2 separate regions of the Homo sapiens genome follow, and region 1 is linked to region 2. The links are contacts of gene promoters, found by promoter capture Hi-C in blood cells and fetal thymus (Javierre and others, 2016). All regions are on one chromosome and are shown on one strand. The core of a region is centred on a gene start or on the middle of the fragment in contact, and the rest is flanking DNA. Distances in the headings are between cores, read along the strand shown.

Evidence for each region. Contacts are between HindIII fragments. The CHiCAGO score rates a contact against its expected background, and 5 or more counts as called.
Region 1: a contact is called between a fragment that was not itself captured here and the fragment with the promoter of RBM26 in region 2, in 1 of 17 cell types (total B cells). The highest score is 5.6, in total B cells.

Annotation. Positions count from the first base shown.
Region 1 is chr13:78,144,475-78,147,174 of GRCh38, reverse strand. The region is part of intron 1 of OBI1-AS1 (OBI1 antisense RNA 1); the gene reads right to left. Among named protein-coding and RNA genes, the nearest start is that of OBI1-AS1, 91 kb to the right of the region's middle. The HindIII fragment of the contact is 993 bases long and covers 907-1,899 here.
Region 2 is chr13:79,404,854-79,407,553 of GRCh38, reverse strand. RBM26 (RNA binding motif protein 26) reads left to right here and starts at 1,299. Exons shown (of 22, transcript NM_001366735.2): 1 at 1,299-1,850. The coding sequence starts at 1,780. RBM26-AS1 (RBM26 antisense RNA 1) reads right to left here and starts at 1,245. Exons shown (of 7, transcript NR_038991.1): 1 at 1,077-1,245. RefSeq lists enhancers at 1,014-1,313, 643-1,634 and a silencer at 1,544-1,743. The HindIII fragment of the contact is 7,810 bases long and covers 1-2,700 here.

The DNA of each region.
Region 1 (2,700 bases), core at 154-2,653, 1.3 Mb after region 2:
TTTCCACCTAGACCAGAAGGTCCTACAAACAAAATGTTTCCAATTAGCATTGTCTGTGCAGCCAGTAAAGGTGTGAAAATGGACAAGGTTAAAACTGGCATAATAACTATTTGAAGAATGGTTAAATAGACCAAAGCTGTTGCCCTTTTCCTATCTCCCAAAACAGTGTGATTCTGTTCTCTTCTGAGCCTAGAAAATATCTGACAGTCATCATTTTTTCGTAAAATTTATGTGCAGATTTTTGCAAACCAAGATTAACAGACAATGAAGGAAGGGCTGATCTGAGTGTATGAGTATAGATATATAGATATATAAAATATATGTGTGTGTGGGGGGGTATATTGTTTTTCTATTCATTGACTTTTGAAAACAGAAAGCTCCTTACCATCTAAAGGAATATATCCAAAATGGTGAAGTGTCAAGTGGTATGATTTGGTTGAGATGCACAAATGTTCACTGAAGACCAGGTGGGTTTCAAGTTAAATACCTGAAGATATATAAGACATAGTATCTACTTTGCATTAATATTTTTGCAGGCCGGGATCCCTGACTTCTCTCCCTCTAATCATTTCAAATTAGTAAATCAGGAAATCCCAAAATCTGTTGGGAAGGACTGTTAGAAAATGTTAGGTCCTAAAAGCATGGAACCAAATTCTGGCTCTGTCACTTTCCCACTGTATTTCTTTGGTGAATTTTTAAAATTTTGATGAATTTCTTACCTAGAGTGACTGTATTCTCTGATCTCAGAGAAGTCCTGGCTTATACTTGTTGTCTCGGATTAATTAACAAGACCTTCCTCTTTTCAAGAGCTCCTCATTTTCTATAATAAATTATATGATGACATGTCAACTTCAGAATGGTTTTAAGAATTAAATGAACATATGTGGCTGTGTGTATAAAAAAGCTTGAAAAATGTACAAATGGAGGTTAAAAATGAGAAATCCAATAAATGAATAAAAGATTAATGAAGAATGAAGATTTTATTAGTATTTTAAGATATAACCTTTTCAGCATAGGCACAAGCTCTTTCCAAGATCTTGGATTAATTTTTCATAGTATGAACATATGGCAAGTGTTTTTCCTAATATCACTATGTGGCAGAAATAGATCCCATGTCCAGATACATATATTTCATGGATCCAGTGACATTGATTTACTTTTTATTTACTTTGAAGTCATTGGGATACAAAGAAATATAACATTGTAAATTCAAATGTTTTCTTTGCAAACCAAAGGGCTTTGTGATCACTTATTTCTTTCTCTTCCACCAGAAGATGAGTAGCATGTAATATTCTCTCTGAATCATATATGAAAAAGCACAGGACTTACTTCTCAAGCGGCAGAGCCCTGGAGGATTATTCCACTAGAATAACCACTTGCGAAAATATCTCTACAAGATAATGCAACTTGAAAAAGAAGACCCAAGGTGACCCCTTAATTACTAACATTAGAACTCAAAGCTCTTGGAGATCTAGGGGTTTTTCACTTTAATACTTAGCTAAATAGGTTAAGATTATAGAATAGCCTAAACAAAGTCAGTATTGATATTGTTTGTGGAATATGGAAAAATATTTTCCAAATTATTAAGAGACAGCCTTAAAGGATCCACTAAGACAAAAGGCAAAATGGACCCCTCATCCTCTGACCTGTGTAGCAATAAGCTAGGTTTATGGCTTGCCTGCTCACCTCAGGAAGTGGTAATAACAGCCATTATTTTCTGTGGAAGCAATGCCTGTAACCATGTCATCCTCTGATAAATCATACCAGTTGCATCTTATTATCACACCGATGGTTCAATTAACTCACATCACCACTCAATTTATCAAATTAAAAAGGAAGGGTTTTGTGTGTTCTAATAATTGTTTCATTAACATAAAACTAGTTAAGAACCAAGAAGCTTCAGATCCAGATTCATAATGTCTTTATGCAGTTTTGTTTTGATTTTGCTCTGATAGTCGTACACTGACACATCTTGTGTTCTATTAGTTGTCATTATTATTCTTTCATTAACATACATATGGCTATTGAATGTGGCAGGTTTTCATAGAAGACAAACACAATATTACAGAACAAAATGGTGACCATAATTTTGAAGATCTAGGCATGTTTTTAAGCATTACAAAAGCTTTAAAATAAGCATTGTCATCAGTTCAGTATGGAAGTGGTGTACTAATGAAAGAGCTACGTTAAACTAATATATTCAAGGACTTTTAAGATTAGAGAGTAAGGAATTTCAGAGTAAATTTTAAATGATTCTTAGAAATTTTTATCTAACTAGAACAGATAATTCTGTTGTTCTATATAAATAAATCAAGGAAAAGATATATTTCAGAGGCATTGCCCAGTGAAAATTAATTTTGGAAATTTTAAGTCAGATGGTTGGAGAATGTCAGCCATACTTTAATAGTTTCACAGCAACTTCTTCCAAGCAGAGTTGTACAATCATGTGTTTAAATTAAACTTATCACTACACACTAATAATAATGTTATATTGTCCCGTACTTATCAATTTTCACAACTCTTTCACATTATTTTACCCTTACAGCAACTACATAAGTTAAATATGATCCTTCCCATCTTACAGTAGGAACCAAGGTTCACAGGGGTTATGTCACCCAAGTTGAGTCATCCTGGTATGTGTCCATGCCAAGACTAAAGTATAGATGGTCTAGTTAAAAGACACTTGTCTTGAAATCAGAA
Region 2 (2,700 bases), core at 50-2,549:
TCATATTGTGCAACCCACACAACACCACTCATCTCCAGAATCTAAATCATCCTAAACTGAAACTCTATTATCCACTGAAATATAACTCCTCATTTCCCCTTCTCCTGGGCACCCTCTCCACCCCTGCTCTTGCTACCATTCCACCTTCTGTCTCTAGGAGTTTTGACTACTCTAGGTACTTAATGTAAGTGGAATCATAATATTTGTCCTTTCATGTCTGGTTTATTTCACTCAGCTAAATCACTTTAATCAACACCCTGGTTATTCAGTAGCTGGATTCTAATTTGTATTCTACTCTATATGCTGTATTTTAAAACAAATGTCTTGCTTTGTAGTTCATAATCTTTCCACCTAATCCTTAAAGACACTTCACTCTAGCAAATTATAAACTCAAGAGTTCCTAAGAACAATTTAGCCTATCGGTGTCTCTCATAAAGAGCTTTTATTGATCTACTTACTGAAAATGTCTTTAGATTGTGAATATTTTCATTCCATTACAGTTCATGGAACGTAGACCCTTTGTAAAATTCCACCTAGTATCTAAATAGAACTCAAGCAGGAATCAAACTTATTTGATCACCCAGGAAAATAGTTTATTTATTTGGGTTGCTAATATGAAGACTCTCTCTTTTGATACTATATAATTTCCCGATCTGAGATAGGGCTGAATTTGCTCTAAATAAAGAGAATTTTAAAAATAACAAAACTTATCTTTAGCTGGGGGAAAGTGCAGGCTGGAAACTACCTGAGAGACGTGAAGGTTCTCTCACCTTTCCCTTGTGGGCAGCCCTCAGTCATTAGGGCTCTACCAGCAAGTCAAGTACTGTTGGACAAGACACTAATCCTCTGGCGGTCTCATTGGGCTCCATTAGACCAGCCTGTGTTTACAAACCTCGTTCACATCACAGCATACACAGAATATGATACTGGTAGGGCACTTAGGTAAACTGAGGAGGTAGTGTGCTCGGCACCTGGAACCTACGGGCCGCCTGGTGTCGCGCACGCGGGAGTGTACGCTCTCAAAGAGCGATCCATCCGGCAGGACCGTTCCAGCTGACAGGCCACGGCCGTCTTACCGGGGACGAGCTGGGGTTCCCGCTGTTTCTGAAGTCAGCGGTCTTTTCCTCCTTGTAAGAAATAAGGTCTTTATATCATAAAGGTAAGCAAAGAATAAAAAGGCACAAAGGCCGCAAGCAACGCACACACGCAAAAATCGAACTACAGCACTCGACCCGCGCATTCTCCGCCGACCTTACGTCTCTCCCAGCAGGCTCCGGGAGCCACCGCGAGACTTCATCAATTCTCGCGAGATTTACCGGCAGCCATCTTCTTGGGGGTGCTGGGAGCCGGGAAGACCCCCTGAATCGTTCCCATTGAGCTGCCCTTCGCCTTCGCTTTCTTTACTTTTGCCTTTTCGACGTAGCCAACAAGCACCTGGTCCCGAGGCTGAGAGAAGGCTCGGGTCTAAGCGCGTGTCGCGCTTCCGGTCTGGGTAGATTTGCTGGGGAAGAGGGAAGGGGGAGGGCCCGGGCAAACCGTTGCTGTTTCAGCCCGGGCTGGGGGCCGGGGACGGGGAGCTCCTGGCACCCCGTGCACTTGTGGCCTGCGGCGGTCCTTGCAGAGCTGTTCGCCGACCGGGGCCCGCGGGAACCTGCCACCGGCGCCTCCCACCGCGGCCCACGCGGGCGGCGCGCGGAGGAGGGGGCGGGGGCAGCGGCGGCTGTAGCGGCCGCGACCTGGGCGGGCGGAGGAGTGTGACGGGCCTTAGGGCCGCTGTGGATGGTTTCTAAAATGATCATTGAAAACTTCGAGGCACTCAAGTCCTGGCTCAGCAAGACTCTCGAGCCCATGTGAGTATCCGGGGGATATCTCTTTGCAGGGATGGCAGTGGGAGATAGGCGGACCCAGAGATCTGTGCAGTTTCCCCAAGTGCCTGCGGTGGAGGCCGAAGCGGTGAACGGAGGTCCCAGGGTTCTGTGGCTTCTCCTCCTCGTCCACCTCGCTTCCAGATTCAGGATACCCCCGAGAGCCTGAGTCGAGCTTTATTTTATTGCTGAGCTGCTCTCGTTTTCCCGTTATATATAGACCGTCTCCAACCCCCACCCGCAATATTTTCCGGGGGCCTCAAAATCGGTTTATTTTAGTGAAACCGACTGTATTTTACTTCCTACAGATTATTTTACCTTGTTTTTCTAAATGAAGTAGACGGCCTTTATTGGGGATTCGGGCAGTTCTAGCTTAAATCACTCACGTTTCACCTAAATATAATTCCTGAAAGCAAGGCCACGTCTCCCATGTGCTGTCTGGCTCATCTGCACCTCTCTTCACTGATTGAAGATGTAACAGGTGCTGAGGTGGCCAGTAAAATTCCCCTTTCCCGCCTACGCGTTCGTTAGCTTGGAGAGGAGGAAGAAAATTGAATCTTCATCCATATGGAATATTTAGCAGTTTTAAGTGGGATGCTATAGATAGATTTTGTGTTGGGGGCTGCGGTTAGAGTGCTGAAATAGTCTTAGATTGGAAAATTTAAGGAGTGTTTTGACGACTTGTTAATACAAAATATGACATGGACCAAAGTGCTTAATCAGAATTGGTTGATTTACAATAATGCAATGGGGAAAATTCACGTATTTAATAAAGTTATTAGGTACCTACTGTATACTACGGGAGGCTTTGGGGATAGAGCTTTTAAATTCTAAA